Regions from separate parts of the Homo sapiens genome. Here regions 1, 2, 3, 4, 5 and 6 are each linked to region 7. Evidence: promoter capture Hi-C in 16 types of primary human blood cells and fetal thymus (Javierre and others, 2016). All regions are on one chromosome and are shown on one strand. Each heading gives the region's core, a stretch centred on a gene start or on the middle of the fragment in contact. The rest is flanking DNA. Distances are from core to core; before and after follow the strand shown. Region 1 overlaps IBTK (inhibitor of Bruton tyrosine kinase). Region 2 has its middle 15 kb from the start of SNX14. Region 3 has its middle 6.6 kb from the start of SNORD50A. Region 4 overlaps SNX14 (sorting nexin 14). Region 5 has its middle 4.1 kb from the start of IBTK. Region 6 has its middle 3.3 kb from the start of SYNCRIP. Region 7 holds the start of CEP162 (centrosomal protein 162).

Evidence for each region. The method cuts DNA at HindIII sites, captures the fragments that hold promoters and counts their contacts. A CHiCAGO score of 5 or more calls a contact.
Region 1: a contact is called between a fragment that was not itself captured here and the fragment with the promoter of CEP162 in region 7, in 1 of 17 cell types (total CD4 T cells). The highest score is 6.0, in total CD4 T cells.
Region 2: a contact is called between a fragment that was not itself captured here and the fragment with the promoter of CEP162 in region 7, in 1 of 17 cell types (naive CD8 T cells). The highest score is 5.9, in naive CD8 T cells.
Region 3: a contact is called between a fragment that was not itself captured here and the fragment with the promoter of CEP162 in region 7, in 1 of 17 cell types (non-activated CD4 T cells). The highest score is 5.2, in non-activated CD4 T cells.
Region 4: a fragment that was not itself captured here is called in contact with the fragment with the promoter of CEP162 in region 7 in 2 of 17 cell types (naive CD8 T cells and fetal thymus); the score reaches 7.2 in naive CD8 T cells.
Region 5: a contact is called between a fragment that was not itself captured here and the fragment with the promoter of CEP162 in region 7, in 2 of 17 cell types (total CD4 T cells and non-activated CD4 T cells). The highest score is 6.0, in total CD4 T cells.
Region 6: a fragment that was not itself captured here is called in contact with the fragment with the promoter of CEP162 in region 7 in 3 of 17 cell types (naive CD8 T cells, fetal thymus and naive CD4 T cells); the score reaches 9.7 in naive CD8 T cells.

Annotation. Positions count from the first base shown.
Region 1 is chr6:82,228,008-82,231,828 of GRCh38, reverse strand. It overlaps IBTK (inhibitor of Bruton tyrosine kinase), which reads left to right. Exons shown (of 29, transcript NM_015525.4): 4 at 1-111. Among named protein-coding and RNA genes, the nearest start is that of IBTK, 18 kb to the left of the region's middle. RefSeq lists a silencer at 3,760-3,821. The HindIII fragment of the contact is 1,716 bases long and covers 393-2,108 here.
Region 2 is chr6:85,606,911-85,610,742 of GRCh38, reverse strand. It overlaps a transcript of SYNCRIP not described here. Among named protein-coding and RNA genes, the nearest start is that of SNX14, 15 kb to the right of the region's middle. The HindIII fragment of the contact is 815 bases long and covers 2,070-2,884 here.
Region 3 is chr6:85,668,918-85,672,574 of GRCh38, reverse strand. No RefSeq gene overlaps it. Among named protein-coding and RNA genes, the nearest start is that of SNORD50A, 6.6 kb to the left of the region's middle. RefSeq lists a silencer at 378-578 and an enhancer at 2,844-3,365. The HindIII fragment of the contact is 8,939 bases long and covers 1-3,657 here.
Region 4 is chr6:85,589,161-85,592,713 of GRCh38, reverse strand. All of the region lies in intron 1 of SNX14 (sorting nexin 14), which reads left to right. Among named protein-coding and RNA genes, the nearest start is that of SNX14, 2.9 kb to the left of the region's middle. RefSeq lists an enhancer at 1-365. The HindIII fragment of the contact is 1,660 bases long and covers 671-2,330 here.
Region 5 is chr6:82,249,843-82,253,926 of GRCh38, reverse strand. No RefSeq gene overlaps it. Among named protein-coding and RNA genes, the nearest start is that of IBTK, 4.1 kb to the right of the region's middle. The HindIII fragment of the contact is 4,001 bases long and covers 706-4,084 here.
Region 6 is chr6:85,644,233-85,648,113 of GRCh38, reverse strand. No RefSeq gene overlaps it. Among named protein-coding and RNA genes, the nearest start is that of SYNCRIP, 3.3 kb to the right of the region's middle. The HindIII fragment of the contact is 2,050 bases long and covers 1,552-3,601 here.
Region 7 is chr6:84,226,355-84,230,191 of GRCh38, reverse strand. It overlaps CEP162 (centrosomal protein 162), which reads left to right and starts at 2,549. Exons shown (of 27, transcript NM_014895.4): 1 at 2,549-2,612; 2 at 3,740-3,837. The coding sequence starts at 3,799. RefSeq lists enhancers at 2,074-2,233, 2,135-2,635, 2,636-3,136. The HindIII fragment of the contact is 5,497 bases long and covers 1-2,812 here.

The DNA.
Region 1 (3,821 bases), core at 1-2,500, 2.0 Mb after region 7:
TATACTTGGGGCGATAATACAAATTTTACCCTGGGTCATGGAAGCCAGAATAGCAAACATCATCCAGAGTTGGTGGATCTGTTCTCCAGGAGTGGGATTTATATCAAGCAGGTATTTTTGAAGTACAATCTATATACTTTTAGAGATGAGAAAGAACTTTTGTATTTGATTGTTCAGCTTTTCATGTGGATTACATAACTTTGTTTCAGGTACAGTAACATTTTAATGAGGAAATCAATCAATAGAACTTTGCTAATTTTATTTTAGATATTGTTAGCCTTAATTATATTTAGACTTTGTAAAATACCCTAAAATATAAGATATTTGTGCAATTAGTGTTAGAAATTAGAAAATGTTATACAGATAGTAGTTTAATTTAAGAGGGTAAAGCTTCTCTTGATTTTCTAGCTTTTCTATTTAACAAACATTACAATTCTGTAAGCTGTTTCTCAAGTGAATTTGTTGTTGAAGCTCAGTGTTATTTTTGATAAGTGAACAACAGTTCTTTTTTTTTTGGTGGCATTAAAAAATAAAATAATTTCAATTTAGAAAACAACACACTTCTTGCAATTTTTTGTAACAAAATAATGTTTTTAGGTTCCAAGCTATTTATCATGAAGAGAATATGTTTAATCTTATGTGAAGTTGGATGACAGCAGTCTGGAAAGGCTATAGAGTTTTTTAACTGAGGGTCTGGTAAACTGCCAGTCATTCTATTTAATTATTTGTATTCACACTGACAAGCAATAAATAATTAAATGTCTAAGTCTCAGTTCTCAGTTTGGATAGTAGATAGAACTAAAATTTCATCACTTATGGAGACAGATAAGCAATGTTTTGGAAGTGTGGGGTTCAAAAATTTGCCCTTAGATGCTTAGGCACGAGTGATGCTTTTTGTGAACCTGAGTTCTTAAATGTAAGTAATTGTAAAATTTTAATAGATACAATTGTAAAGATTTGGTCTGTGGTCTTATATCCTTACAATGCATGATATCTTCTACTTCCCCAGATACAGCTACTGTTGACAAATCTTTCTGTATTACATTGTGTATATGTGTGTATGTATGTGTATCTCTAGCCCCAGTCTTTCTCTTGAACTTTATTTCAGTTGTACTGTGGGTATTCTTTCAAGATATTTAAATTTAGAATGTCTGAAGTGTTATTTTTGCCACTCCTAAACTACCCTATTCAATTTTTAATGTTATAAATCTCAAATTCTAAATCCTGAAGATGATACCTCAGAGCATGTCTATTTAGTTCTTTTCTGTCTCATGAACCTAGGTGCCATGTCCTTTTCAAGCTCTTTTTTTGGACAGTGACAACAGTGTCCTAATTTGACTTTTTGGCTCCATTCATTTCAACCCCAATAATATTCTTCTCCAGAATTATTTGTCTTAAAAAAGAGCTAATTATGTGTTTATCTACTAAGTCACCTTTGGATAAAGTCCAAACTCTGTGGCTTGGAATGTAAGAACTTTTTCAGTCTTCCTAAATTACCATTTCAACTTACATTTCCTACAACTTCCTAGTTATATTCTTTCTGCATTTTGAAGTTCATAAAACTTCTTTGATCCAGAATATGAGCTTGGAGTGTTTTTATCACTATAGTACTGGCTCTTTCCAACTTTCACCTATTATTTATATATGACATACATAACAACACTTAGTTTATATCCTGAGATTGAATTCTTAGACAGTTTTTAGAGCTACTTTGACAACATATCCCTAGTTTGCCCAGGACAGTTCTGGTTTATGATTATTTTCCTAGTGTAATTGTTAGTATCCCCTTTCATTCTCAAAAATGTTTGCATGATAAATAATATGACCACTATATTTAGGGCTCCATAGAACACTATTTTTTAAACTAAAAGTCACAACCTAATGCATCACAACCAGCAATTGAACAAAAAAAGCAATAGAATCCTTAAACTCTAGAGAATATTAAATTTTGAGAGAACAGGAATAAAAACCCATATAGGAATGAAAAGTGGCTAGAGAAGTAGGGAGTAGAATGGTGTCATGAAAGCTAATATTCTTGTGGGTCTTCTCTGTAGATGTGGAGGGAACTTAGGATAATGAAAGGACTTGTGATGGGCGAGAATCAAGCTTGGTGTCCAAGTCTTTAGTGAATGTGAGAGGGGTGAGCAAGATGGTGAGAAATCAGAGCAGGGGCAGCAAGTGTACAAGCTGCTCACCTAGTCTAGAGCTTTTTGCAGACATGCTAGTCAGTTTTTTTTTTCTCATGCTGAGCTTGAGTGGGTCCTCAGACTCCTCCTTAAAATGATAATCCAACCATTAGCAGCCACTAATGATTGATTGGAATTGTGGCACAAGAAAGACACCTGTTTTTCCTTTTTTGAGGTAGTACATGATATACCTTTATTTCATGAGCTGTTACGGAGCAGGGATTTTAAAGACAAGAGTGAGGGAATCATGATGGCATTAGGAAATCAGAGGGTGATTGAAATGTCTGATCCAAAGAAATATATAGTTTGGAATATTTGAGCATATTCCATTTGCCAGGGTTGTGAGTGAACTAGTGTACTCAAAGAGAAAGCCACATTTCAGGTAAGGCAAGGCAGTGGGCGTGTTTTGTGAAGGTATTAAGGATCTAAGGGATTTTATTTACCACAGAATGAGGGTGAAGCAAGCACAGTGGGTAGGTTTGAAGGAAAGAAATCAGTATAAATTTCAGTCAGGGAAGAGAAAGCAAGTATGGGAATATTAATTGAGTACCAGTTATATAGAGAGCCCCATTTGTTATTGAAAAGGGGCTGATTCTATATTATACAGTACCAAATTAATTAACTACCATGAGACAGAGATTATTAATGTTAGTATTATATATTCCAGATAATTAAAAGCGAAAATCCATGCTCAGTTCTTATTTAAAAATTCAGGGGTTTTAGGCTGGGCGCAGTGGCTCATACCTGTAATCCCAGCACTTTGGGAGGCTGAGGCGGGCAGATCACGAGGTCAGGAGATCGAGACCATCCTGGCTAACACAGTGAAACCCCATCTCTACCAAAAATATAAAAAATTAGCCAGGCGTGGTGGCGGGCACCTGTAGTCCCAGCTACTCGGGAGGCTGAGGCAGGAGAATAGCGTGAACCCGGGAGGCAGAGCTTGCAGTGAACCGAGATGGCGCCACTGCACTCCAGCCTGGGTGACAGAGCGAGACTCCGTCTCAAAAAAAAAAAAAAAGTCTGGGGTTTTTAAAGTTGGATAACTTAAAACTGTCTAGTATTGCAACTGTTGTTTAGTAGTAGAAGTCAGCAGTTGTAGGATGGCATTCTAATATTTAATATAAAATTGAATGAAATGTATTCTTTCTTATTTCATAAAATGAATTTCACTGACAACTTGTAAATTTAAAATACAAATTTGGATTTTATTTTTAAACTTTTTAGGTATTTGTGGTACAGCTAAATGAGATAATAATCTTTGCATTACTTTTTTTATTTGATAGCTATATTGTGCTTACAAAATTCCGAGCGGTCTAGGGTATGTGTAAATATTTAGAGCTTGTCTAGCTTATAATTTTTTTGTTTTCCAAAGGACCTTGACTTTCTGGAAATGATTTTAGGGTTTCTTTATTTCTTACTCATCTTTTTATATCCTAAGTTAGAAATATTTGCAGATGTTGTAAGAAATATAAATGCAAACAATCTTTAAAAATGAGAAGATTTTAAAAATATTATTAAGGTAAAGTGAGTATAATGAATATCAGAGCTTGGAAAATAGCAAAATGTGGCCCAGGGTTAGATATGTAAATATATATATATTTGAAACTGCTGATGGTTTCCTGTTATTGTGTTCTG
Region 2 (3,832 bases), core at 1,228-3,727, 1.4 Mb before region 7:
CTGGCATTTCTCAGTTCCGAGGAGTTAAATGATCCCATCTAAGAGGTCATTGCCATGCCTATTGGCACTTTACTGTCATAGCATTTTTAAGGGACACTGTCAAGGTGTTTAAGTTCTCAGAATTACTTGTTGGGATTTTAGGACAGGTTTGTTTACTTAAAGTAAGAACTGCATTGTCAAAGTTGAAAGAGGAACACTTTTGTGAGTTCACAAATGTGTTCTTAAGAAAACATTAAAATATGGAGCTCTGGGTTTTCAAGACTATTTGGCATTCTTAATTTGGGGACTTGGGAGGGAAACTGATAAAAAGAAATTGAAGAATTGATGGTTATACTTAAAGAAGGGTAATGTAAACAGTGGTGATGAAATATATACACATCAAGTGAAATTACTTGACAGTGTTCATTTGAATGACTTTGAATTCAAGCCATTATAATTACTTTTAAAATTAAATATCATTTGCACTGTTCTGATAATGGGTGCAGTTTTTGAGCAATATAATCAGAGCTAAATATGCATGTAGTGATTAGTGATGTGAACAATTAACGTTCTGAGAAGAAATACTAACTGTGGTATTTTCAAACTTAAATTTCTGTAGTAAAATCAGTATCAAAGTCTTATCAGATCAAGGAAAAACAGGCAATGCATATAAACATACTTTTGAATGTTGTGTGGCCTATAAAGCAATAATGCAATTTATATGGAATGTCATGGGATATGAGAAATGGAAATGCAAAAATAACTAATCCTTTAGTAAAAATGTCAACATGTTAAAGGGGGAATGTTAACTAATGTAGGTTATTGCTATTTGTGATTTGTTTATGGGTTCTTGGCTTTGACAGCTTCAAAGAATGGACAGTGATAAGTTAAAAGAAATTTTGTATATTGTCAAGGAAAGGGTCTTAAATCCGAGTCAAGTCCCTTCCTTGGGGTAAAAAATGTATTCTTAAAGCATTCTGATGTTAAAAAGAAAACTTAAGTTATCTAACCAAAACAGACGCAAGATTTTGTTTCTGCAGACTACTTGGCAATCAAAAGTGATCATAAATTTAGGTTATCAGTTTTCAGAAAGTTGCTTTGTGAGAAAATTTTGTTAGATATATTCTCCCAAGCATGCTTTTTGTGGAAGGTTTTCAGCCATTGCCACTGAATCAGATGTTAAAAATGAAGGGAAAATTGAGTGTGCACACACACAACTGTTGTACACTCATGATTGCAGTTTTTAGCTTAAGAAACTTTTCTACCAGTTACTGTGAATCTGACTTAAAATGTAAAGTTTCCTCATGATAAAATAGGAACAACATAGAAATGGATTGATGGGGTGATCTGAGTTATTGTATATAAAAGTTTTTAAAGAATAGAATGAACATCAAGCTAGATAGGCAAAAATTGACACATTCAGAACAGCTTTTTTGACTGCGAAGCCAAAAGTTGTCAGAAACAGCAAAAGATCCCTTATTATTACAGAGTATTTTACGTAGTCTCTATTTTAAGGAGAGAAATTAAATAGAAGGGCTTCATGCATTTAGGGGAGGGTGCTAAAACTTCTCAAGTTCGTCAAACTTACAGGAATACCCACCATGATCATTTTCTCTCTAATTATGTATACCACAAAATTTTCATCTGGCCATAGGAATTCACTGGTGGGTGTAAAATTAATGACTAAAGAAATTAAGTGACAAATACATAAAAGAAACAGACTTGTGGGGATATTGTTTTAAGGTGTATTAATTACTCAGTGATGATACCACTCAATAGGGCATGCCACTACTTTTCTTAAGATGCTAATTATGAAGCAGTGCTCACAGGCATTTTTTAACTAGCAAATTAGTAGATGGACTTTTGGGGTCTGTCACTTTTTAAAAGTATTTAAGACTTAAATTCTATTAGCACCACAGTCTGCCTTCAGTAATACACCTAAAATATTTTTCAGGACCAGAAGCATTCAGTTTGAAAATTTGCAGATGCAAACCAGTATTATTACTAACGCTCTGGGTCAAAGATTAGGTTTTTAATATTAACAGTAGTCTGGTAAATATTTAGAAGTCTGGCATTGAGAAACAAAAGCTTGTACCTGACTAGTATTTTTATTTAAAAAAATTAGTTCTGTTAGCTTATTTAAATTGTGTTTTATTTATCCGTAGAATTTATATTTATTTCATTCCTTTCATCTCACTGAAAACTGTCTGCAGGCCCTTTGATTTGGATTAGATGTGTGAAGTACTGTCTTTTGCCAAAAACCTCAAATTACCTGTTCTTTTCAACGTAGTGGGTTTGTGCTTGTTTGGAGATCAGTTCAAAAACTATCTGTACTATCTGTACTGCCTCTGATGTTAAGATTTTATGTATAGCATAAGGAAGCTAGCTCTGACTATATTTTCCTAAGAATAAAGACCTATTTTTGTAGCATGTCTTAGGATCTCCAGGAGTCCAAGAATTATTGTGGGTGTCCTCCAATTCATCACTCTTCACTTAACAGCTTTTAAGTAGACACTTGGAATCTTTAGAGGTCTGTCGCCCTTTGATTATCCATACATTCGAAGTAACTAGCCAATGGTGAAAAATTCCTCAAGATATCCTCAGTTGCAATCACATTACTGGAAGATGAATAGAATAAATGTATTAGGCTGGTCTTAATTTTTGATGGAAATATTCTGTTGTCCCGTACTTGCCATTGGATTTGATAAAGTTAGTGGTAATTTGGAAAGAATCGGGGACTTGCCAATATATTTGTGGGTTTTAGCTTATACCCCTAGGATTTCTTGGTTGCGGGACGAGCAGTTTTGGCCACTTCCATCAGGACAAGACTTTTTAGGTCACTTAGTGCAGGTTTTAGTTTCTATTTTGGATTAACAACATTTATATTGATTATCGAAAAGAAGCTTTCATCATTTCAGAACAGTCCTGGAAGTTTGACTTTGAGTGTGGGAGAAGTCCTAATAAACCATTTTGGAAATTAGTGTCTCCAAGTGTTACAGCTTCCTAAAATGGGTTTCTAACACAGTGGGATCAAAATAAGGTTATTTTAGGATAATATACTGTAAACTTAATTGACTGTCTGATTTTCTACTTTGTCTATAAAGTGGCTTACAACAGGTTCTAATCTAGAAAGGAGTTATAAAGGTTATCTGTAATGTTTATGAATTGTCATTTCTTGCCTTCTTTTAGGCTTTCAGCTGTATTCTGAAAAGGAGATTGTTGTGACAAACTCAACTTGTTTTGGAGAGAATTTTAGGAAACCTAAGGGATTTGGCGTTTTATATCATTTTTGATGTGCAGTTTTTGAGTTTTCAGGGCAGAAGGGCAAAGTATTTGGTGTGGACAAGTTGTTACCACAGATTAAAGAATAAGACCAGGGCTTGCTGACAATAAGAAATTTGTTAAAGAGTTTTGTAGGTTCCATATGGTAAAATTAGGTCTTGTAATTATAGAAACACCATGATATACAAGAAGAGTTCCAGCATACCTGTTATGGCTCGTTAATAGTGTTAACTTTAAGTTGAAATGTGAATAACATGGCATTTGTGTTACATGAGTACTGCATCATTTAAACACAAATTTGCTAAAGCTAGGTGCATCTGTATACTAAAACCCTTATGACATCATTTTTAAGAGAATATCTTTAATATGTCAGTATTTATGTTAATTGGTTGCTTTAATTGGAAGACTCAGGAATTAGGCCTCCAGTTGCTTTTAGTTTAACACGTCATGAAAAATTAGAAAAGCATATGTACAAATTGTATTTCTCAGTTTTATTTAATATTTGGAATATACTTAGAGGAAAACCAGAAATAAACAATGTTAAAGGTCATCTATAAAAATGGCAGAATAC
Region 3 (3,657 bases), core at 831-3,330, 1.4 Mb before region 7:
TTATTATGCTTATATCCATATTTTTCATAACTGAAGGCCATACCATCAATAAAAACACATTGAGTACATTAAAAATATGGATATGAGCAGTAACAAAAATATAGGCCAAATAACATCATTATTATTATCATCATTAATTATTTTAGAGACAGGTTCTCACTCTGTCACCCAGGCTGGAATGCAGTGGCCTAATCATAGCTCACTGCCACCTTGAACTCTTGGGCTCAAGGGATCCTCCCACTCAGCCTCCCAAATAACCAGGAGATCCTCTAGCATGTGCCACCAAGCTCAGCTGATTTGTATTACTTTTTATAGGGATGGGGTGTCACTATGTTTCCCAGGCTGCTCTTAAACTCCTGACCTCAAGTGATCCTTCCACCTTGGCCTCCAAAAGTGCTGAGATTACAAATGTGAGTCTCCTCACCAAGATGCTTTTTTTTTTTTTTTTAAGCAGTGAAATGAGAGCTCACTGTGTAGCCCAAGCTGGTCTTGAACTCCAGACCTCAAGTGGTCTTCCTGCCTCAGCCTCCTGAGTAGCTGGGATTATTGATGTGAGTGGCCACACCTATACCAAATAATTTTAATCAACCACTTTTTTTTTTTTTTTTAAGACAGAGTCGTGCTCTGTCGCCAGGCTGGAGTGCAGTGGTGCCATCTCAGCTCACTGCAACCTCTGCCTCCCGGGTTCAAGTGATTCTCCTGCCTCAGCCTCCTGAGTAGCTGGGACTACAGGCGCATGCCACTACGCCCAACTAATTTTTGTATTTTTAGTAGAGACAGGGTTTCACCATGTTGGCCAGGATGGTCTTGATCTCTTGACCTCGTGATCTGCCCACCTCAGGCTCCCAAAGTGTTGGGATTACAGGCGTGAGCCACCGCACCCGGCCCTAACCTGTACTTTTGTATAAAAGTAGTTGATTAAGGCCGGGCACGGTGGTTCACACCTGTAATCCCAGCACTTTGGGAGGCCAAGGTGGGCAGATCACTTGAGGTCAGGAGTTCGAGACCAACTTGGCCAACATGGTGAAACCCCGTCTCTACTAAAAACACAAAAATTAGTCGGGTGTGGTGGCACGCACCTGTAATCCCAGCTACTTGGGAGGCTGAAGCAGGAGAATTGCTTGAACCCAGGAGGCAGATGTTGCAGTGAGCCAAGATTGTGCCACTGGACTCCAGCCTGGGTGACAGAGCAAGACTCCGTCTCAAAAAACAAAATAAATAACAAAAGTACAGTTTGGGAATTGTTGCTAATAGTTGATTAGTTTAATTGCTTCAATGAGAACATAAAGCATTAAACACAGTAAACTACTCTGGAGCAATAGTAAGGTGTACTCCTTGAGATACATCGTAATTCTGACTTGAATTTCATTGCTGATGGAGATTCTGAGTTTATGTTACATTTCTTTTTCGAAAGTGAATGTACACTGACTAGCCCTTAAAAAAAAGAAAAAAAGCAGCCGGGCGTGGTGGCACACGCCTGTAATCCCAGCACTTTGGGAGGCCAAGGCGGGCATTATCACTTGAGGTCAGGAGTTCAAGACCAGCTTGGCCAACATGGTGAAACCCCATCTCTACTAAAAATACAAAAATTAGTCTGGCTTGATGGTACACACCTGTAATCCCAGCTACTCCGGAGGCTGAGGCAGGAGAATCGCTTGAGCCCAGGAGTTGAAGACCAGCCTAGGCACAGCAAGACCCCATCTCAAGAGAAAGAAAGAGAGAGAGAGAGAAAGGGAGGAAGGGAGAGAAAAAGAGAAAGGAAGGAAGAGAGGGAAGGAGGGAAGGAGGGAGGGAGGGACACAAACATTGTTCTGAGTTTGGCCTCATGCCCAGAAACGTCAGGATAGTTTTGAAATTCATGGACTTGTCCCCACATATTGATGTAGCTCACTTTCTTGAAGGATATTGCTTGCTTTCAATTCAATCTGTTCCTCAGGAGATTGAACCATACTGATAGACTAAGTGTGTGATGATTCAGAAATATACCAAGGTTTGCATTCATTTGTTCATTGAGCAAATATCCTGAATGCCTACCATGTATAGGTACTATCCTAGGCACTAAAGATACAGTAGTGAACCAAACAAAAACCTCTGCCCTTGTGGAGCTTACATTGTAGGAAGAGGAGAAGGACATTATATAATAAATAAATTATAAGCTATGTTAAAAAATGAGAAATGACACAGAAAAAATAGAATATGAGACATTGGGAGTGGGTTTGGGGAGATAATTAGTGTTGCAGTTTCAAATGGGGATTCTCTCATCTGAGAGGCAATTGAAGTAAATGGGGTTGACAGAATAGGCTTCAATGAAAAGTTGAGATTAATTAAGCAGAGATTTAGATATGTGCATAGCTCAATCTCTCACCTAACAGAGGGTGAGAGATTGATCTGTGCATATATCTGGGAAAAGGGCATTTCCATAGCAGTGGCCCATAGGAAGGAGCATGCATAGTGAGAAAGGAAGCAAGGCCTGCAGCTTATGTAGGGCTTAATGGGTCATTGAAAGGATTTCATTCTTAGTCAAATGGGAACCACTGTGAAAGAAAACACAGAAACTCCAAGTATGATTCATACACATCAAAATCTATGAACCCTACCCCTAGGGCCCAGATTGTGGCCTCTAAATACCACTTACCACTAAAAGGAAACAGATCTGAGACAGGAAATGTACAAGATGAGCTTGTTGTACGTTGCTATAACAGGTAGCAAGACTGCTGGAGTTGTGTTAGAAGAACTCAGGAGGCCAAGCACGGTGGCTCACGCCTGTAATCCCAGCAAGGATTACAAAACAGGCAGATCACTTCAGGTCAGGAGTTTGAGACCAGCCTGGCCAACGTGGTGAAACCCCATCTCTACTAAAAATACAAAAATTAGCTGGGCATGGCGACGGGTGCCTGTAATCCCAGCTACTCAGGAGGCTGAGACAGGAGAATTGCTTGAACCCGGGAAGCGGAGGTTGCAGTGAGCTGAGATCTCGCCACTGCACTCCAGCCTGGGTGACAGAGGGAGATCCATCTCAAAAAAAAAAGGAACTCAGGAGTAAACTTGGAGAGTCTCTCACTTTCCAAAGATAGAAAATTTGACTATTATTGAGGTGTAATAGAGAAAAAATAGAGAAAAAGACATGTCTTCAAATCTATGAATTCAGAATGATACTTTAAAAAACTGAATTTAATATAAGTGTTAAAGGATGCTAATCATCAGTTTCAGAACTGCAAATAAAGGGACTTTCCAATACCAACTGTACTGACATAACCAAATAAAAGGTGATAAAAAGTTTGTCTTTATTGATATATTCCAGTTAACAATGAAAAAAGATTGGCATAATTAGAAGATCATCATTTTGCAACATTCTAATGAATTAATGTATAGGCAATAAATATCAATGACTGCTAACATCCAAAAAAGAGGTGATAAGATATTATATGTCCCTGAAGAAAGAATTTGCCTCTGCCTATTTCAGACTCTTGTCTGAAAACAACAAAAATGAATATGAATTTGATAAAGCCTCTGGATATAATTACTAATTTATAGATTACAAAGACATATGTTAAACTACATTACAAAGATACAATCAGCAAAATCCAGACTATGGAAAACTCTACAAATGATTTCTATAACAAATAAATTGCAAGGAAAGAAACCAACCAAACGAGA
Region 4 (3,553 bases), core at 251-2,750, 1.4 Mb before region 7:
CCGGCCACATCCCTATAATATTCTTAAGAGGACTTGATGCCACCCTCCCCAAAAAAACCTGAAATATTCCGAAAGGTTAAAATTGATAAATTCAATTGACATTTTGAAATCAGAAGATTCTGCCCCCGAAATAAACTTGTTTTACTTCATTTTACTATTTCAAGAAATTGTTGCGATGCAATAGGTAGTAGAGGAGACTTTTCCATTAAAATTAACACCAGATTTGCTTTTGGTGGAAAGAAATCTGAGATAGTTCTCATTGACAGCATCCGCAAGCTGTTTTCTCTGATGTTTTGAACAGGCAACCATTCTTACTCTTTATCTTAAGGTAGTTGATTCCCAAGGATAGCAACAGGGAGGAATGCGCAAGGAATTTGGTAACTTCATTTTTCTCTGGTGTAACCATTATTTGTGACTATGTTGAAGTTAGATTTCTTCCCTAAAAGTGGCCTTGCTTTCTTGTTGATTCTTGGTTTAAATATTATTGAGCTTAAATAGTAGTTGATGTTTTACTGAGAAGTGTGCTCTGTGATGGTGAGATGTTTGAACTGTAGGAGTGTGGGAGAAGTGGGATCCTTAACAGAGGGAACACTAATTATTATTTGCTTTCTGTCATCTGGAAGGTATTCCAAGCTAGACTAACAGGTTTAGTATGAAAGAAATGTAAGCTTCATATGATTTTTATTTTTATTTTTATTTTTGAGACGGAGTCTCACTCTCTTGCCCAGGCTGGAGTGCAGTGATGCGGTCTCGGCTCACTGCAACAGCCACCTTCCAGGTTCAAGTGATTCTCATGCCTCAGCCTGCAGAATAGCTGGGACTACAGGTGGGCACCACCATGCCCGGCTACTTTTTTTACATTTTTAATAGAGACGGGGGTTTCACCATGTTGGCCAGGCTGGTCTCGAACTCCTGATCTCAAGTGATCCACCTACCTCAGCCTCCCAAAGTGCTGGGATTACAGGCGTGAGCGACTGCACGCAGCCCATATGATTAACTTTTGTCCATGGATTCTTACCTACCTCTTTTGGGAACTGGGTCAGTTTAGGTTTCTAAGGTAGGAGAGCCATCTAGTAGGAGCAGGTTAAACTAGATTTCTGAGGTCATCTACTTATGGTCATAACATTTAGTGTTGTGTGTTATTAAAAAGTCATAGGATGCCATCTGATCTGTATACCATCTAACCTGTACCCTGTATTTCTTTTATGCAGAGAAGGTAGGAAATACAGGTAAATGTTACCTGAGTGGTTGGGTTTATGAGTGAAGCTGTTTTTGCATATGTTTTGGTGTTTTCCATTTGTTACTGCTGTAGTCAGCAAAAGTGATTTTAAACACTAGAACTGTCTTGAATAAAACCATGATTATGTATCCCTTTTCCAGGAAAAATCTTTTGGAAGGTGCCAGATGGTGTATGTAGCATGCTTTTCAGTGTATATGTGTGATTAAAAAAAAAAAAACTTATGTGTGTATTCACGTACACACACACACACACAGATGATAAGAGTATCTCTGAAATGTTGTTATACAAGAAAACATGGGCCCTTCTGAGATGGGGTATACTAGGTACATCTATTCTGAAATAAAAAATAATTTTATATGAAGTTGATCCTTGAACAGTGCAGAGATTAGGGCCACTGACCCCTATGAAGTCAGAAATCCGAGTGGAATACCATGGGATCCATACAAAGTACCACTAATGATACTGGGAGTACTCCCAAGAAGCAGAGAAAAGTAATGACATTACAGAAAAAGTGAAATGCTTGGTATGTACTATGGATTGAGGTTTGCAGCTGTGATTGCCTGCCATTTCAAGATAAATAAATTGAGTGTAAGGACCATTGTGAAAAAAGAAAAGGAAATTCATGAAGCTGTTGCTGCAGCTATGCCAGCAGGTGTGAAAACTTCGTACTTTTTGCAAAGTACCTTTTCATGTTTTATTGAAAATTTAGCTTTTATGTGGGGGCAGAATTGCTATGAGAAAGGCATACATATAAACTAATGCTATTCAAAAACAAGTGAAGTCATTGTATAACAGCTTAAAGCAGAAGGAAGGAGAAGGATCTAAAACTGGGTAATTTAATGCCAGCAAAGGATAGTTTGATAATTTTAGGAAGAGATCTGGCTTAAAAAATGTCAAGAGAACCGGAGAAAAAGCCTCTGCTGACCAACAGGCAGAAGATGAGTTCCCAAACACCATTCAGAAAATCATTGAGGAGAAAGTATTAAATATATCTTCCTGAGTGGGTGTTTTTTTGTAAAAGCAAGTTTATTAAGAAAGCAAAAGAATAAAAGAATGGCTACACCATAGGCAGAGCAGCCCTGAACAAGCTTTTAATGCTGATGAAAGTGACCTGTTTTGGAAAAAATGTCACAAAGGACATTTATTAGTAAGGAAGAGAAATGAGCACCAGGATTTAAGGCAGGAAGGTGTACGCAAATTCTTCTATTTTATGGATATGCAGTTGGGTTCCTTGTCTATGAAGTGTCTAACCCCCGAGCTTTGAAGGAAAAAGATAAGTACCAGCTGCTAGTCTTGTGGTTGTATAAGGAGGCCTGGACAACAAGAATCATTCTTTCTGGATTAATTTCATTGATGCTTTGTCCCTGAAGTCAGAAAGTACCTTGCCAGCAGGGATTGCCTTTAAAAATTCTTTTGATACTGGACTATGCCCCTGGCCACCCAGAACCCCATGAGTTCAACATCGAAGCTGTGGAAGTGGTCTACTTGTCCCCAGACATAATGTCTCTAATTCAGCCTCTAAATCCAGGGGTTCATAAAGAACTTTAAGGCATTACACATGGTACTCTATGGAAAGGATTGTCAGTGCTGTGGAAGAGAACTCCAATAGAGAGAACATCATGAAAGTTTGGAAGGATTACACCATTGAAGATGCAGTCATTGTTATAGAAAAAGCCGTAAAAGCCATCAGACTTGAAACAATAAATTACTAGTGGAGAAACTATGCCCAGGTGTTGTGCGTGACCTCACAGGATTTACACCAGAGCCAATCAAGGAAATCATGAAAGAGATTGTGGATATGACAAAAAAGGTCTTTCAGCATAAGGATCTTACAGAAATTCAAGAGCCAGTAGACATCACACCAGAGGAATTAACATAATATAACTTGATAAAGATGAGTGCTTTGGAACCAGTGCTAGACAGTGAGGAAGAAGACTTTGAAGAAACAGTGCCAGGGGCCAAATGCAGTGGCTCATGCCTGTAATGCCAGCATTTTGGGAGGCCAAGGTGGATGGCTCACTTGAGCCCAGGAGTTCAAGCCTGGGTAACACGGTGAAACCCTGTCTCTACAAAAAATACAAAAAATTTAGCTGGATGTGGAGGTACACGTCTGTAGTCCCAGCTACATGGGGGGCTGAGGTGGGGAAGATCAGTTGAGCCTGGGATGCAGTGAGCCATGATGGCACCACTGCACTCCAGCTGGGATGACAGAGTGAGACTCTATCTCAAAAAAAAAAAAAAAAAAAAAGTGGTGCCAGAACACAAATTGACAGTAGACAATATGGCAGAAGGTTTTCAATTATCAAGACTGCT
Region 5 (4,084 bases), core at 1,457-3,956, 2.0 Mb after region 7:
CTCAGCCTCATTTTACCCAGCCCCTATTCAAGATGGAGTCACTATGGTTCAAATACCTCTGACATCCCCCTACACCAGTCAGAAGTTCAGACCTCCGGAACTCCTGACTGATTGGCTTCAAGTTGGGGTTCCCATGACTCCCTCTTTGAGTTCTATTAATTTGCTGGAGTGGCTCAAAGAACTCAGGAAATAATTATATTTACTGTTTTTTTGTTTTGTTTTTGTTTTTGTTTTTGTTTTTTGAGACAGAGTTTTGCTCTTGTTGCCCAGGCTGGAGAGCAATGGCATGATCTCTGCTCATTGCAACCTCTGCCTCCCGGATTCAAGCGATTCTCCTGCCTCAGCCTCCCGAGTAGCTGGGATTACAGGCTTTTGCCACCATGCCTGGCTAATTTTGTATTTTTAGTAGAGACGGAGTTTCTCCATGGTGGTGAGGCTGGTCTCGAACTCCCGACATCAGGTGATCCGCCTGCCTCGGCCTCCCAAAGTGCTGGGATTACAGACGTGAGCCACTGCGCCTGGCCTACTGGTTTATTAAAAAGGATATTGCAAAGGATACAGATGAAGAGACGCGTAGGGTGAGGTATGAGGGAAGGGACGTGGAGTTTCCATGCCCTCCCTGTGTGTGCCACCCTCCAGGAATTTCCATGTGTTCACCTATCTGGAAGCTCATGAACTCTGTCCTCTTGGATTTTTATGGAAGCTTCAGGACATCAGCATTCCTTCCCGCAGGGTATAGGGTGGGACTCTCTCGTGGGAGGGTCTTAAGACCCAGAGTCAGAAAGGTGCGGAAACTATGGAAGAAGGGCAGGAGAAGGTCAGAGGCCTGTTCCTGAGGTCTAACATACCCAACTTTATAACAAATGACTGTAACAAGGGCTATGGGAGTTATGAGCCAAGAGCTGTGGATGAAAACCTATATATATATCACAACACCACAGGCTGTTACTTTTTCCCAATCTAGCCTCTTATCCACTTTTCAAGGACTCTTCATAAGTTCTGGACCTTCAATGGCCAAGGTTCTTGTTTTCCAATGCACTGATAAGTTTAAGTATGTTAAGTATGTTTTCTTTTCTTTTTTTTTTTTTTGAGACAGAGTTTTGCTCTTGTCGCCCAGGCTGCAGTACAGTGGTGTGATCTTGGCTCATTGCAACCTCCATCTCCCTGGTTGAAGTGATTCTCCTGCCTCAACCTCCCGAGTAGCTGGGATTATAGGTGTCTGCCACCATGCCCGGCTAATTTTTGTATTTTTAATAGAGATGGGGTTGTACCATGTTGGCCAGGCTGGTCTCAAACTCCTGACCTTAGGTGATCTGCCTGCCTTGGCCTCCCAAAATGCTAGGATTACAGGTGTGAGCCCCCACACCCGGCCTAAGTATGTCTTTTCTATCAGTCCTAGGGATTTATGGCATGAAGAGAAGGCTCCAACCACTATGTATCAAACTCACTCTTTTTCTTTCTTCTCTCTCTCTCTTTCTAATAGTGACAACACAGATTTAATTATTTAGCTAAGTAGAAAAGGAATAGGAGCAATTCTCAGTAAGATGGGCTGAGAAAGGCAAATGATACATTTTTCAGTCATCGTAAAGGGAAGACTTTTAGGAGTTCAGTGTTCTGATTGTAATAGAATACTAAGCCTGTTAAGTTTATAAGTTTGATTTATCTCAAAGTTCTGCTTATTTCATCTAGGCTTTGAATTTACCTTGAATTTCTCCAGTATTTGCCTTGAATTTCAGATTTTTTTGGTGGACTATGCTTTTAAACATAAGATTCTAAAGTTACATTCAAATACTGCCACCTTGTGGGTTATTCTTTGTTTCCCCATCCCACCCTTTAATTTGGTGGAAACAGATTCATCCAGGCAGTTCATTTCAGGTTATGTCAATTAAGTTGCTAAGAGTTGTACTAAGAGCTTCATATATATAATATATACATTATATTATATATATATATAAAATCTCATTTAAACTTCTTAAGAACTTTATGAAAGCAATACTATTAACCCTATTTCAGAGATGAGGAAACTAGGCTTAGAGGGTTTATGTAACTTGCCTGACATCTCACAGATAGTAAGCATAGGAGTAAAACTTTATATCTGGGCACCTTGCCTCTAGAATCCTTGTCTCCAGGAGTAAAACTAACAAATCTAAAAATAAAACAGTGTGATACATTATATGACTAAGTGATAGAAGCAGTATAAAGGGAATAATTGCTAGGAAAGGCCATCCGGAAAGTCTTCACAGATATGTGGGGAGGTGACCCTCTGTAAGTAAGGATTGGAAAGATAATGATTCTATAGGAAGAACGCAGCTGGGACCATACACCTGAATCCAGAAGAACACAAACACCCTATGTGGCCTATTGTTTTGTCTGCCTCACCCTGCTTTCTTTTGGGGAACTACTCTTCACTCTGCTTTAACCATGACTCTAATAGAGGATGTCAATCATGTTATCCTTGATTCCTCACCTAATCCAAGCCGACATGAGTCCGTCAGGTGCCTAGAACTTTTGTGCTTGAGATAATAGGCTCAGTGCTATCTTCCCTAATGGCAAACCTGAGGTGAGATATGTGATTTATGTGAGGTACTTAATTTGTGTGCCAGAAAGTTGTAGTCAACCAGTGATGTCCTGTAGAAGATGGTGTGGAGTAGAAGAGAATGAGGCTAAACAATAAGGTTCCAGTCATCTCTAGGCCAGCTGCACTATTGATCTTCCTCTAAAAATCATTCTTGTAGAACCTAATCAGGTTTGGGTTTCTAATCAAATTCTAGTGTTTTCTCTTCTGCCACCAGCACTGTCATTTCCTACTCCTATACAACTTGAAAGACAGCAAAATACACATAATGATGTCAGTACTTTTAATTATAAAGGATAGTACTACCAATTTATTTTGGAAAAATGGTATTTAGGGAGTTTATTATAGATGCCATGTGGCTTAGAAATATTTCTGCAGTGCTCCACTCTTGATGCCTGTACTATTCTTTTTCTACTCCCTCCGCCCATCACTGCAATCTTTTTATTTATTTATTTATTTATTGAGACAGAGTCTCGCTCTTTCACCCAGGCCGGAGTGCAGTGGCGCTATCTTGGCCCACTGCAATCTCCACCTCCCAGGTTCACGCCATTCTCCTGCCTCAGCCTCCCGAGTAGCTGGGACTACAGGTGCCCGCCACTGCGCCCGGCTAATTTTTTTTGTATTCTTTAGTAGAGATGGGGTTTCACCGTGTTAGCCAGGATGGTCTCGATCTGCTGACCTCGTGATCTGCCTGCCTCGGCCTCCTGGGATTACAGGCATGAGCCACTGTGCCTGGCCCATCACTGCAATCTTTTAAAGTCATCTCTGGTTTTTTTATTTTTTACTTTAAAAAATAAAACTACTTTAGAAACTCTAGTCAATTATTTTTCCAAACTTTGATTTTTTTAATCATTCAAGTAATATTTAAATTATTGCAATGAAAATTACAAAAGTCAAAATGATAGAAATTAAGAATCACCCATAATCCCACCATAGAAACAATCATTGTAGATATATTTTGACCTATTCTTTCATGTGTAAACACAAAATTTTTTTAAAAATCAAACAAAATGGCTCATTTTGATTTCTTCCTCCCTTAACCACATCTACAATATATTTTTCATTTAATTGTATTTCATTTGTACTATTTCCTAATTATTTTAATATTTTGTCTTGCAAATAACCAGTAAGTACTTTTGAAAGCATCTAACTTTCCTGGGAAAAGGGGAGCAATTCTACATTCCTTTGACTGGAATGTTATTTCTTTCCTGCTTCATCTACTTATCTCCTCGTTATCTAGTTATCTGAGTTATCTTCTGCTCAGTCTTTAGTTCATGTGTCACATCTTTTGGAAGTCAGATAAATCTATCAGATTAATACTTATAAACGTTGCAATTTATTATGCTTGGGAATATCTGGGTCTACATGTATTTTTGTTCACTGTTGGATCCCCAATGCTTACCACAAATTGTCCGAGACCTGGTAATTTTAACTTTTATTTATTACTATTTTTTGAGACAGGATCTCACTCCGGTTGCCTAGGCTGGAGTGCAGTGGCGTTATCTTGAC
Region 6 (3,881 bases), core at 1,327-3,826, 1.4 Mb before region 7:
ATTTATCTTGCTGCAAATGACAGAATTTCGTTCTTTTTTATGTCTGAATAATATTCCATTGTGATATATACCACATTTTCTGTTATCCATTCATCCATCAATGAACACTTGGGTTAATTTCATATCTTGGCTATTTTCTCACTGTTTTAATTTGCAAGTCCCTGATGACATATGATATTCAGCATGTTTTCATATGCTTATTTACCATTTGTACATCCTCTTTGGTGGGCTATGTGTTTAGATTTTTTGCCCATTAAATTTTTTTTTTTGCCAGGCATGGTGGCTCATGCTTTTAATCCCAGCATTTTGGGAGGCTGAGGCGGGTGGATCACTGAGGTCAGGAGTTCTAGACCAGCCTGTCCAAAATGGTGAAACTCTGTCTCTACTGAAAATACAAAAATTAGCCAGACCTGGTGGCAGAAGCCTGTAATCCCAGCTACTCAGGAGGCTGAGGCACGAGAATTGCTTGAACCCAGGAGGTGGAGGTTGCAGTGAGCCAAGATTATGCCACTGCATGCCAGCCTGGGTGACAGAGCAAGACTCCTTCTCAAAACAAAACAAAACAAAACAAAAAAAACAAAACATTTTTTTTTTGTTTTTTATTTGCCTAACACTTGATATCAACGTTTTTGCCAATTTTTCAATTAGGTTGTGTGTTTTCTTATTGTTGAGTTTTAAGAATTCTTTGTATATTTTATTGAATAACAGCCTTTTATCAGATATGTGTTTTGCAAAGATTATTTTTTTTCCCTAGTCTGCGGCTTGTCTTTTCATTCTCTAGACAGTGTCTTTCTTGGAACAAAAGTTTTTAATTTTTGATAGGGCAGGCTTTTTATTACTATGAAAATAAGATGTGAGAGATAGTGCCGCCGGGCGCGGTGGCTCACGCCTATAATCCCAGCACTTTGGGAGGCTGCGACGGGCGGATCATGAGGTCAGGAGATTGAGACCATCCTGGCTAACACGGTGAAACCCCGTCTCTACTAAAAATACAAAAAAATTAGCTGGGCGTGGTGGCGGGCACCTGTAGTCCCAGCTACTCCGGAGGCTGAGGCAGGAGAATGGCGTGAACCTGGGAGGCGGAGCTTGCAGTGAGCCGAGATTGCACCACCGTACTCTAGCCTGGGCAACAGAGCAAGACTCCATCTCAAAAAAAAAGATGTGAGAGATAGTGCAAAAATTTTCTTGATTACTAGAAAGATTAGGTTGAATGGCTTCCATGGTCTCTTTCAACACTAGCTTTTTATGGTTCTATGGAAAAAGTAATGGTGTGCTGTGAATTTTTACCCTGTGAATTGAAGGGTTCCCTGGCCCATTATAAAATTAATATATGTTAATGGCAGGAAGTTTAGAAAATGCAGTAAAGAAGAGAAGAAAATATGCAAAAAACAAAACAAAACAAACAAACAAACAAAAAACAGTGTGGCAGTGTGGCATTGACTGGGTGGAAGAATTTTGGATAAGTAAAAAATCCAAACAGGCCTGCCTACATTCCTCTCTTTCATTAGTTGCCAACTCAACAGGGCTGCATCTTCTCACTGTTTCAAAGCTTACATGGACGAAAAGACAGCAATGAAACTAATGAATACTCTGTCGGGAGCAGTGGGTCACGCCTGTAATCCCAGCACTTTGGGAGGCCGAGGAGGGTGGATTACCTGAGGTCAGGAGTTCGAGACCAGCCTGGCCAACATGGTGAAACTCTGTCTCTACTAAAAACACAAAAATTAGCTTGGTGTGGTGGTGGGTGCTTGTAATCCCAGCTACTCGTGAGGCTGAGGCAGGAGACTCGCTTGAATCCAGGAGGTGGAGGTTGCAGTGTGCTGAGATCCCGCCACTGCACTCCAGCCCGGGCAACAGTGTGAGACTCCGTCTCAAAAACAAAAAACCAAAAAACGAGCCCTGGCGCAGTGGCTCACGCCTGTAATCCCAGCACTTTGGGAGGCTGAGGCGGGCTGATCATGAGGTCAGGAGTTCGAGACCAGCCTGGCAAACATAGTGAAACTCCCAACTCTACTAAAAATACAAAAGAATTAGCCGGCCATGGTGGCGGGCGCCTGTAATCCCAGGTATTTGGGAGGCTGAGGCAAGGAGAATCACTTGAACCTGGGAGGCGGAGGTTGCAGTGAGCCGAGATCACGTACTGCATTCCAGCCCGGGCGACAGTGCGAGACTCCGTCTCAAATAAAAAGAAATGCCAGAATCAAGGGAAGGCCAGGCTGAAGCCATAAAGTGGCTGAGATGAGCTGGGGAGACAGGTGGGACAGATCTTAGAGAGCTTTGTTGATCTAGTTAAGGATTTTGGCTGTTGTTCTAAGTGTAATTGGAAGCTAATGAAGGGTTTTAAGCAGACACGCCATAGGATCTTACTTGCAATTAAGATAGAGAAGGTCAAGGGAGGGAGAGAGCCTACACAGGAGACAGAGAGTCATACAGAAAGACAGATGACTTGGGCTTTGAACAGATTAGGACAGCTGTAAGAGTGGATGAATCAGGAGGCTATGCCATTAGTACAGGTGGTAGATGATGGTGGCTTTGCCTGGGTGGTTGCAACATAGAGATAAATGGAGATATATTTGGGAGACAGAATTGATAGGACTTGATTAACTGATATGGCAGTGTAGAGAAGGAAGTGCCTTGAATGATCCGCTCCAGCAATTCATGTGGGGGATGTTAATTGAGATGGGAACTCTGTAGACGGAAGACTGGGGGAAGATCACGTGCTCAGTTTCTTGAAATGCCCATCTGGAGTGCCAGAAAGCCCACATAAACATTGAGGGCGTGGCTAGAGAAAGGAATTAGATGTCAGAGAACAGCTAGAGATTTTAATTTGGGAGCTTTGCCCAGGTTAAGGCACTTTAAAAAATTTTTTTTAATACCCAGGAAGGTCTAAACAAAGTGTTACATGTTTCAGACTCATTTTTATTCTTTTTTTTTTTGAGACGGAGTCTCGCTCTGTCGTCCTGGCTGGAGTGCAGTGGCGCGATCTCCGCTCACTGCAAGCTCCGCCTCCCGGGTTAACGCCATTCTCCTGCCTCAGCCTCCAGGGTAGCTGGGACTACAGGCGCCCGCCACCACGCCTGGCTAATTTTTTTGTATTTTTAGTAGAGACGGGGTTTCACCGTGTTAGCCAGGATGGTCTCGATCTCCTGACCTTGTGATCCGCCCGCCTCGGCCTTCCAAAGTGCTGGGATTACAGGCGTGAGCCACCGCGCCCGGCCAATTTTTATTCTTGTTTAATCCATGGTATGACTCTTATTTTCATAGTTTTCTATTAAACATTTTGTTTTTCATGTATATCATTAACCACGACCTCTGCATTGTGAACAAAAATCCCTATGGCTGAAGCAGCTGAATATCACATATGTTTGATAGTAAGGAATCTGGGGTGGTGGAGATCTCAAATCCTTACTAAACAGGTTGGCTATGTGGTGCTTTGGCTAAAACATACTTCATATCTGATCCAAGTAGCTATGAAAATAATCTAGCATTTTATGTGCTTGTGCACTTTGAAGAGTGTTTATCTAACTTTTCCTCAAACCACTGATTTGTTATCATAGCACAGAGCTCATCTGGGGAACCAGTAAGCTCTTAAAAATAAGCTTTTTAATCAAAAGGACATTGTTTCTATTTTTCATTACAGCTGCCCTGGATAAAATTAGTATCCATATCGCGTCTGTAATTCAAATGCCTTTGTCTTGTCTTTCTTGTACCTAGTAAACGATTATAAAGGAAACGTCATTTCACAGAAGATTTAGTTGCCAAGGTTTTTTTTAAAAGAAACACAGACATTTTTCTCAAAGTTGTTCTAACCACGCAGCTTTGTGCTGTTTCAAGTTGCTCAAACTGTGCCAGGAGGAAGCCCTTAACTGCTTAAAAGGCCA
Region 7 (3,837 bases), core at 1,300-3,799:
GCTAGTATTAAATGGTGTTTTAAATTATGGGTCATGAGGTCAATTCATTTTATAAAAATGAATACAATAGTATACAGCACAGTGTAAACTCTCAAAAAATATTAATCATTCTTTTAATGACTATTATTTTGAAAAATGTATAACAATTCAATTCAGTACCAAAAATTTAGTGACATCCCTTCCACAATTCAGCATAACAAACTCTTGGATCCTATAAGCATAAGTTTTGTAGGTTTACGCATAGAGACAAAATGATTATTCACTCTTTAGACACAGTAACATTCATCTTCCACTCCTTATACCAAAGCTCCAATTCTAACCTCAATAGGACTGAACTCTGTACCAGAGCTGCAAATAATTCTGCATGCCTTGGTGAGTGGGGGTGAGAGGAGGCTGTAGAAGAGAATAGTGCCGACCATACCATGCAAGTCCTTGTAGATATTTGGATTTTAGTACAAATACAGAGAGAAATCATTGTAGGATTTTCAGCAATGGAGTAACCTGATTTACATTTTCAAATTATCACATTTTCTATTGTGTAGACAATGGGTTAGACGAGGATAGGAGTAGAAATAGAGAAACTTGTTAGAAGGCTAATGAAGCAGCTCAGACAAGAGGAAAAGATGCCTCTATCATTAGTAATTAAGATGTAAAATGAACAGAATAGAGACACATTTTGGAGGTAGCACCAACAAGTCTTGACGAATAAAATATGGGAGAGAGGGAACTCCCAGATTTCTGTCTTGAATGAGTAGGTGTATGGAAGTACCATGAAGTGTGACAGAATAAGAGTCCAGAAATAAGCCCTAAGAAATTCTAACATTGGCCAGGCGCGGTGGCTCACACCTGTAATCCCAACACTTTGGGAGGCCAAGGTGGGCAGATCAGGAGTTCAAGACTAGCCTGACTAACATGGTGAAACTCTGTCTCTACTAAAAACACAAAATTAGCCAGGTGTGGTGGTGGGCACCTGTAATCCCAGTTACTCGGGAGGCTGAGGCAGGAGAATCAGTTGAACCCAGGAGGTGGAGGTTGCAGTGAGCCGAGATCGCACTATTGTACTCCAGCCTGGGTGACAGAGCAAGACTCCGTCTCAAAAAAATAGAAATTAAAAAAAAAGAAAGAAAGAAAAGAAAAAAAGAAAAAGAAGAAAAGAAAAGAAATTCTAACATTTAGAGGTCAGCTAGGATAGACAGAGACAGTGAAAACCCTTGAGGGGAGGCTATAAATGTGAAAGAAAAACCAAGAAAGAGAGGAGACAAGTGTATCAAATAGTATTGGGAGATCAAATAAAGCGCTGTCATATATGTACACTTACACACACAGAGACAGGATTAAAAGGTCTGACAAAAGGGAGGTAAAGTGGAAATAATTCCTCAGAAAAGATTGGCAAGTAAGGTGAGGAGACAGATCATTTCAACCACTGGGAAATAATAGCATGAAGAGAATGTGTCAGAAGTGATGTTTTAGGTGGGGATCTCAAGGCATGTTCAAATGCTGTTAGGAAAAATCCCACAGCCAGCCAGAAGTCGAAGATACAGGATTAAGGGAAATGACCAGTGGAACAAGATCAGTGAGAAGAAGAATGGGTAAAGGCTCTAGATCATATGTGGGAAGGTAAGTCTTTGATAGAAGGTGGCAGGAAGTCAACTTCTCAATAAATGGTAGCTTAAGATATTTCTTTTATTATTCATATTTGCATCATAGTCCACAGCTCCTGGTTTGTACATATTTGTATTGCAAGAAAGACTTGATGAATAAACAGTTCTAGCTAAAGATGAGGTCCTGAACTAAGTCTACCATCAGCAAAACCTGCAGCTGTTGTAGATTTTACTTACACTATGCTAAATGTTGTCCTCTGAAACTCCAGCTAATGTTGCATGCTTTGAAAAAAAGAAAAGAAATAGAAAACAAAATCCAAGTCAGTAATTGTGAAATGCCAGTAAAGAATGCAGTTTTGAAAAGTAGGGGTAGCGGGAGGAGCAATAACTTAATAAGAATCTTGCTGTTTGCGTATTTTCGATTTCTTGCCCACTAGGTGGTGGAACAGAGTCCCCATCTAAACGACAGTTTTTTTCCTCACAGGTTTGTGTTTCTCTCACAATGCCTACACAGGTCTTTGCAGGCCAAAGAAATCCAAGAAATTCAATCTCTTCAAAATTGCCCCTTGGAAAAACAGAGCGCTCGAATGACAAGTGTGGGGAAGGCGGGAGGCGACGATGCGGAGTGCGGAAACACAAGGACCAGGGGAGCTAAACTACATTTCCCAGAAAGCCACGGGCTGGCCTACAACCACCGCGCCCTCCAAGCCTGCTGGAAGCCTCCGTCTCGCTTCTCCAGTAACCGGTTTGCCGCTGTCCCCTTTTCTAAGGAACGTAGAGAAAGCCAGGGAAGGAAAGGCATTTTACTGCAGCAGCGAAGGTTTAGCCACTAGAGTGTCTTTCTCAGCCGTGGTTATTCCGACCTTCGCTTGTAAAGGCATTGGGAAACCCACGGCCCACGTGACCAGCCCGGGTCATGTGACTCCAGAACCCGGCAGCTGAAGTCTGTTACCCTGACAACTGGTGGACCCGCACAGACCTTCCGGGAAAGCGCGGAATTCAGAGGCAGAGGTAGGTGGTAAGGTGTGAACGCTGGTTTCCCACCCAAATCGCCCTGGTCGAGGCCGTGCTTCATACTCGAGCGAAGGGCTTTAATTTTCCAGGTCATTCCCCTTCTCCGCCCGGAGCCCACGGCAAATGCGTCTTTGTCTTCCCTCCAATTCCCGAACCCGCGCTTCTGGGGACGGGGTCGCAGCCAGGCTTGAGAAGCTTTTAGTGGAGCTCACCCCTGACCAAGCTATTCAGGCCAAGACCTTAACCGCACTTACCCTGAACTGATCGAAAGTGCAAATGAGGGGAAGAGGTGTTACTCTGCACGATGGGGAGGGTATTGTCCGGGTCTGCAAGCCCTCTTCCCCTCCCCCATCTCTACAGAAGAAAGCTGGGATTTGAGCTGCTCTAGGGAGTTCAGGAGCTGGGGGTCGACCCAAGGTTGGGTTCATTAGGTGTCTAGGGGAACGCTTTCCGTTGCAAATCACTGGATTCTGCTTGTGTTCAGCACATAATTTTTGTCGGTCTTCCCTCGCTTCAAAAGAAACATAGTACTGATTTGTGTACTCCATTAACTTTAAGTATTCTTTAAGTATTTTGACTAAATTACTAATTCTTACTAAATTCTATTTGTGTATATTTTGAAACATCCCCGTATCTGGATACAGTCTGCTTTACGAAACTATGCAGTCTGCTTTACGAAACTATTACTATGGATTGGTAAAATAACGAGCCGAGTGATAAGGCAGCACAAACTGTCGTGTGCTTTGCAAGAAAGAAACAGTCCTTTGGATTTGCTAACTTACAGTTTTTAAGATTCCCTGTGAGGACCTGGTTTGTGTTTGAGAGGTACTAATTAACACATGCACACAAACATAGGTTTGGGAAATATTGTAGAGACCACTCTTTAACAATTGGATGTTAACAGATGAAAACATAATTCTGAACGTTGAGTACAAGACATCCTGTCAAAGCTGCTTTTCCAAATCAGTTTGCTTAATGAATTAGGAATCTCTTGACCAGCTCTTACTGGTTAAAAAAAATTGTGCATATATACTGAATCATAACAAATGTCCGAAGTTTAAGTCTGGTCGTGTTCATGATCTGATGGATTTCCTCAAAAGATGTTTATGTCTCTTGTCATTTAGTGTTTCCAATGTTTGAGGTACTTTAGAATGTTTACTTTGGGAGGTCAAAATTGTTGACTATGGCTAACTGTTCCCAAGAAGAGCTAGATGAAGAGTTT